Linked DNA regions of Homo sapiens: region 2 is linked to region 1. Evidence: promoter capture Hi-C in 16 types of primary human blood cells and fetal thymus (Javierre and others, 2016). All regions are on one chromosome and are shown on one strand. The core of a region is centred on a gene start or on the middle of the fragment in contact, and the rest is flanking DNA. Distances in the headings are between cores, read along the strand shown. Region 1 holds the start of DIRAS2 (DIRAS family GTPase 2). Region 2 has its middle 160 kb from the start of LINC01508.

The links. Contacts are between HindIII fragments. The CHiCAGO score rates a contact against its expected background, and 5 or more counts as called.
Region 2: a fragment that was not itself captured here is called in contact with the fragment with the promoter of DIRAS2 in region 1 in 1 of 17 cell types (M0 macrophages); the score reaches 5.4 in M0 macrophages.

What each region holds. Positions count from the first base shown.
Region 1 is chr9:90,640,520-90,644,200 of GRCh38, forward strand. DIRAS2 (DIRAS family GTPase 2) reads right to left here and starts at 2,305. Exons shown (of 2, transcript NM_017594.5): 1 at 2,233-2,305. RefSeq lists a silencer at 2,244-2,293. The HindIII fragment of the contact is 14,084 bases long and covers 1-2,906 here.
Region 2 is chr9:90,269,977-90,273,665 of GRCh38, forward strand. No RefSeq gene overlaps it. Among named protein-coding and RNA genes, the nearest start is that of LINC01508, 160 kb to the right of the region's middle. The HindIII fragment of the contact is 3,179 bases long and covers 1-3,088 here.

The DNA of each region.
Region 1 (3,681 bases), core at 1,055-3,554:
AGAACCATCGTATTCCCTTTTGATTGAGCAGCTGTTTTCCTGGAAAAATCATAACCAAAATCAGTGTCCTACAAATCAGTTCTGCTCTTAAAAAGACATCTGTCCACTGTCAATACTTATACCAGGTAGATAGACTGATGATAGATAGAGGCAATCCACCATATGAGTGAGAATTGGGGATGGTTGTTATCTGAATTGAAAGTTGCAGATCAACACCAAACACTTTTTTTACTTAAAACAGCTGGCAGGCAACCACTCCACCCCAGACAACTGAATGGTCCTCTCACAAAGAAATTCTCTGGTGGAAAAATGTATGGCATTTGTCACAGGGAAATGATGATTTTGCATAAATAAATAGGTTAATTTTCAACATATCAACTCTGGTCTCCAAATTAGAAGAAGAATGAACAATACTTTTTATTATCACAGATACACTCTCTTTTTGACAAAAGCACCCCAGTTGTTTTTTAAAAGGTTTTAATTTTTCAGTAAGATATGCAGTATTTACCACTGAAATAATACATTTCCAATACAGTAAAAGTCATGTGTGGTGTATAGGATACGAACAACATACAATAAATAATTTTTTTAAAAAAAAGGTCTCCTCCACTCTTCTCATGAGGAAACTGCTTTGCTGAGAATGCTGGGTTGTTAGACACAAGCTGAAAAGTGACTTCCACAACTTGGCATTCAATCTGTATGTTTTCTGAGTCGCCTCTTAGGAACAATTCTATTAAAGCTGTAACAAAGAAAGATTCTGGAGGTTTCTACAATAACCATGAACACATACTTCCCATCTGCAGGGATCACTGAAGTGTGAGCAGCAGTTCTGTGCCTTGGTATAGACAGCAATACCCCCTCCTTTCTCCTTCCTTTCCCTGTGCTTGCCCGGGACTATTACCAAATTAAATGCCATATGTTAAATGGGATGAAAATGTTTCCTTGCCACTGTATCTTTTATTTCTATAAAATGAACTATGTGTCTTCCTGTCCCCAGCCCACAAAGCCTCCTGCATTTCCAGAGATAGATAAAATTGTGGACAATTTTCAATTTCAGACAACAACCAAGAAGAAAAAAAAGTATGATTCCCCTACAAATTTGTTAAATTTATTCTAATTTTATCCTCCCCTTTTCTCTCCCTCCCCCTCCACCTCCTCAAATCCAAATGTCACTGGAAATGGAGCACATTGTGACTGATTTGAAATGTAAAATGCTCCAGACTTTTAGCGTTACCTGGAAAATCTTCCTCAAAAATAATATTTTTGAAAATTTTTAGTTTGAAGCAGAAAAGTTCTGATATGCTGGACTAGCTTCTCACATCTGAAGGGATCCATTTAAAAGATAACGAGGGCAAATATGTAAAATAAATTCCTAGGGAAGGCAAGCTGTGTCTCTGCACAGTAGGAAGAAACTGAATTCCACCACAATGTTGTATTCCAGCATTCAATGGATGTAACAGATGATTCACAGAGCTTCTAGTTTAAAAGTCTCCCAAACCCACATAGAATGTGAATTGGAGTTTTAAAGAGGAAAAACAGCATTTTTCAAGAGAGAAGGAGAGAGGCAGGTTCCCACAACGCCAGAAGCCAGCACTGCTTTTCAGGCGAGCCTGGGAGCTGTCAGCAGTCATTGTCATCTGATGGGAAACCACAGTCTTACAACTAAGGACTGGATGCAGCCCCTTGCCCATCTTCTGCTCTTACAACAAGGAAGCGGAAAGGAGCACATGTAGATATCATGAAACACATTCTTTAAGAAGACAAACAAAAGATTTAGACAGGTCTCGGCCAAGCGCATGAAGTGAAGGAGTCGAGGATGAAAGCATGCCGAACCAAACGGCAGTCCCTAGCGTGCTTGGCTTTTTTCTCACTTTAGACCACATCTTCTTACTCTTTTCCTAAATCCATTAAACTTCCACATTAACAGAAACACCTGCACAGTAGAATTTTCCAAAACGGTAAATCCTGTTTTGGAAGGAATCCCTAATAATACGTAAGATACAGATTTTTAAAAAAGAACATGTTTTAGACAAGGACAGCATGATGCTCACCCTCCCTAACAAGGATACAGAAATGCAGATTTCTTCCCCTCTTACCAACTCCAGTACACGCTGACTCGCCCTCCCTGAGAGCGGTAATCCCTTTCCAGGGGCTGGCAAACAATCATGCCAAAGCCGCCCGTGCCCCAATGCGGACGCAGCGAAGCCACGGCAGAAGGGGGAAATCGGTTACCTGGGGAAGAACACAACTCCGCTCAGAGCTTCTTCAGAGCTCCACTCGCGCAGGACAGGGCAGCGCAGGGTGTGTGGATGCGGCTCCTCCCGGAGGCAGGCGCAGCGCACTCCCTCCCGCCGCCGTGACGATGCTGTCAGCTGCTCGCCCGCCGTGCGCCCTGCACCGCCCACCGGCCGTGCTCCCTGCGCCCAGCGCCCTCGCGCTCCACCCGCTCGCAGCCCCTGCACCTGCGCTGGCCTGAGCCGCTCCGGCCTGGCACTGTCACCGCCGCTGCACGCTCCTCCTACTCTCTTCAATCTCTGCCTTCTCAGATGTGCCAACTGCTGCAGAGGCTGCTGCTCCTGCTTAAATGGCGCCTGTTCGCCTCCAAAGAGCTTTTAGGTGCCACCTACTGCATGCTCTTGGAATAGATGGCGAGGACTGGAATTTTCTGATAATTTAATGAATTAAAATAATTCCATTGAAAGGGAACCAGATTCTTTTGTTCGCATTGCGAACTATAATCGCTACTAACCATATAGACTTTTTTTTTCCATTTCCAGATTTTAACTTTTAAAAACCGACTCATTTAAAGGCAGACGAAATGCCCTGCCCCATACCATAGCCAACCACACAGTGTAGATTAATATATTCTAATTTAATAGGATCCTATGACAACACCGCCATTGGCAAGCTTGGATTAGAATTGCTTTTTCACTGAGTGGTTTCACATTAGCATTTCAAGCAAATGACCACGTTTATTTCCTGACATTGATAAACAATTTTGTCAAAGACGCGTTGATTAAAAAACAGGTGAATCAGCAAGAAAAAATATTAATGGCTAACAATTCTGTGCAGGCATTTTTAAAAGTGCTTGAGCATAACATTGATCCATGTTAAGTTTAAACTACAGACTGAAGGAAGATTTCTTCTCTTGGTTATATTACTCATTCTTTTGTAATACCAAATATGCTAAAAGACTTGAGCAAAATTAATATTCTGTAGTTCTTTACATTTGATTTTTGTTGTAGAATCCTATTTATCTGTTTTAATCCCGTCTTCACTTTCTAAATAATTAAAACATGTTAACCTTTGAAGTTCATTTCCATAGTAAAATTCTGCCCTGCTATTCACAGGAAATATGCTTTTTAAAAATCATACTTAAAAACTACGCATTTTACAACTTATAGTCAAGAAAACTTATTTTATTCCCCAGTTCATCCTAATTCTGGCCTTGATCCTACAGCCATTGGAATATAAAAATAAAAATACACTCTTTTTACTAAAGTCATTTAAGGCTACTTCAACAAACCTGCCCCTACACTAATGATGTCTAAAAGCAGAGTGGTCACCCTGTCCTCCACAGTCTCCTCTTCATTGCAAAGGAATATATGGCCACTCAGAAACCCATCCCAGAGGAGGCTCCAAATATGATGACAGTGGATTCTGAGCACTGCCTGATGCAGT
Region 2 (3,689 bases), core at 249-2,748, 370 kb before region 1:
TCAATCCCCAATATGGGAGGTGGGGCCTAATATGAGGTGTTTAGGTCATGGGGCATATCCTTTATGAATAGATTGATGGTCTTTCTTGGGGTCAGTGAGTTCTCACTCAGTTTCCATGAAGGCTAGCTGTTTAAGACAAAAGACAAAAGCCTGGCACCTCCCCTGTCTCTGGCTTCCTCTCTTGCTGTGTGATCTCTGCACATGCTGACTCTCCTCAGCTTCCCATCAGGAGTGGAAGCAGCCCGAGGCCCTCACCAGACACCCAATCCTCAACTTTTCCAGATAGAATTGTGAGCCAAGTAAAACTTTTTTCTTTATAAATTGCTGAGTCTTAGGTATTCCTCTGTAGCAACACAAAAAGGACTATTTACTCTTTCCAAAGGTGACCACTCTCTCTGTTGTGCTATTAATGTTCACATTTTAAAACCAACAGTCTTTGTACCACTTACGCATTTTTAAACATTGCATTTTAGTTTTGTCTTCTTACACACTTTGTAATGATAACATGAAATGTGCATTCCTCTGGTCTGCCTTTGCTCACTCAGTATTTTTTGTATTCAACTGTGTTGTGGTATCAGCAGTGGCTTGTTGGTTTTCACTGCAGAATAGAATTCCATGGTATGAACACTTCACAGTCTATTGCCTAGTGTTTTTTTTTTTGTTTGACATTTGAGTGGTTTTGAGTTTTGGGCTACTATGGCTAACGTGTGTTGTTATGATTTATGATTGATGAGCATGCTAAGTCATAGCATGGGCACATATTCATTCAGGCTCTTACTGCTGAACAGACCAATGTCTGATAGAAGCAAGAGGCCCCTAACGGTTGGTTATCTGAGGAATAGTGATAAAGAAATCTTTATTTGTTTTTAACTTTTATTTGAGGTTCGAGGGCACATGTGCAGGTTTGTGACATGGGTAAATTATGTGTTGTGGGGGTTTGGTGTACAGGTTATTTTGTCACCCAGGTAATAAGCATAGTACCCGATAGACAGTTTTTCCATCCTCTCCCTCCTTCCAACCTCCACCCTCCAGCAGGTGGCTAGTGTTCCCTCTTTGTGTAAGAGACCTTTAAAAGCTGCTAGAAGGTGGTAAAAATATTTGGGGAGCTGGAGATTGAAATTTATGTGGGAAAGCAGGAAATAAGATGAGGAATCATTAACTGAAAATTTTTTATTAAAAGACTTGAGAGAAAACAAATGATTCCTTCCCAGTATATATAAATATATTCCTTGATGCCAGACTGCCCCTCATAGACCATGGTGATGATTCATGAATTATTACACTTGCTGGAATATAGTCACATTCACCTTGTGTGGTCACGTGTAGGCTAATATCTGTAACTAGCCTTAAATTACTTCTTAAGTTCATTTTATTATGAAACTGTGGAACATGGTTATATGTTTAAGGAAAAATCTCTTTAGGTAGGTATTGACACAAGTGTTGTAGATTTGAAGTTTTAAATCAATATTAAATACATTTTTTATCTTGTTTGTAGCTTGAAACATTATTTAAATCAGCAATTGTCTAGATAAGAAAATAAGTCATGTGGATTTGACAGGTCTGAAAATTGGAAAACTCTTGATTTTTAGAATCCAGAGGATTTACCCAGAGGCAAACTAAAACTGTGGCAGAAAATTAAACCGCTTAAATGTGGTTCTTAGACCACTGGCAAATAAATAACAACACAAGACAGCATTCTGGATTCAGCAGGCAAACTGCTTCCATGGCTTCTGAATATATTGAGAACAAATACTAGCCTGTAAAATGAAAAGAAAATAACTGAGTGCTTCCTCAATGTGTGATGTGAGGAATACATAACATAGCTTCTCTCCCAAAGAAATGTGCCATTAAGAGAAAAATCTCTTCCCAAATTGCTGTCTTGATGCAGATTGATGGTGTGCCAGCCTGGAATATGGGAAATGTGCCAGCCTCAGAGGCAATGTTCACCTGTGATCCGGGACTGTGTGGCCTCGGGCAGAGGACTTAAACTCTATGACCTCCTCTTTTCCTCTGTTTCATGGATACAATGCTTTCCTTGCATGGTACTTGTGATCATAAGAAATGTGTATGGAGAATCTAACACGTGCCCAGGGACCTTGTAGGAACCGAGTAACGGGCATTTTCTCTGTATTTATTTAACAAGTAATTCTTGAGCACCTATTGTTTGCCAAGAACAGTTCTTGATGCAGGGGAAAGTGCAACCCCCAAAAAAATTCTTCCTTCATGGAAATGCTGTTCTAGTGTTTGTGAAGGAAAGGGGCAAAAACAACAAACACTTCAAGTGCATAGTATTTTAGAGAATCCTAGGTGCTCTGGGAAGCAGGAAGCAGGTAGAAAGTGCTGCATTCACTCCACGGGGGACTCCACAGGAGGCTGTGCAGCCCCAGGCATGTGCCATGTGGGTTCACCATCAAGAAGTGACCTGCCATTCAGCTGTTAGGAGAGCTGTTGGCTGCAACACTGGAGCTGAGAACATACTGTACCAAAGGAGCCTGGTGACTTAGCATGGCTATGTCCTTGGGTCTGGTTATTTCTATGCAATGTGGGATTCTTCTCTAAACAACCTTTGCATTGGAGCTCACCACCGAGCCGGCCAGGACTTTCTCAGAGCTCCGCTGTGAGCTGAGGTTTTTCCCATCTTCTTTCCTTCCTACTCTCCTTTCAGGGCTGTCCAACCCACATCATGCCAATGGCTCTCCCTGCCTCTCCCATTCCCTACCCTTTACCAGTCATGTGTGTGTGTGTGTGTGTGTGTGACTCTGTCTTGGGGATGCTTCCTGGAAGACACTTTCAACATAGATGAGATGGAGTGGATGTGAGAGGAAAGTGGAGGGAAGCATCCCAGTGGAACTGTACGAGGACAGTCCCTGCACTGCTGATGAGGTATTCCATGTCATCAGTGGGGGATCCCAGCCTCACACACACCTCTGTCCCTCTTCCCTGCATCCTTGTGGGGGAGAAGCTGGTCCATGCTGACACTAAAAATGCATTAAAAAGTTTTTAATGTTAAAGAGACAATTATTCTGCCTACATTACCTTATTCAAGTGAGTTATGTAACCGAGGAACAGAGAGTAATTCGCAAACCCAAGCTTTCTGTTCTGCTGCAGCATAGTGTAGAAAAACAAGTGAAATTTAGCATAGTTCACTTGGCATCTGCTGCTTGGTATGAGATGCAGATTCATCACCACTGCAAGCTGAGCTGCTACCACATTATTTCTTTTTGTTTCGAAAGGCCCACTGGTTATGAATGCAGGATGGCTGACAGGGAAGGCAATGTGGCTCCCTGGCAGCAGTGATGGAATTTTGCAAGCCACTCAGGTCATCAGTACATTCTTTGAAGGCTGTTCACTAACTGGCTGGAGGCCCCCAGAAAGGCTGATGAAGGCAGGCCTGGGTCGGGAAGCTGTGCCTCCCGGTGTGCACATGCCTACCAGCCACCACAAAGCCAGCACTTTGGAGAAGGCTCTCAGGAAAATCTAGGAGACACCAGCTGCCTGTCATCTCTGCCCATCTTTCTCTATGTCTGCTCTGCACAAGTGTACTCAGCATCCAACCAACCTTACAATCTAATAGTTGCCACCATGAAAGATGGACATTCTGGAGGAGCCACCCAACGTTGGTCACATTTGACTAGAACTTCAACCATGCAAGAATGTCCTGGGTGTTCAAATATTAAAAATATATATGT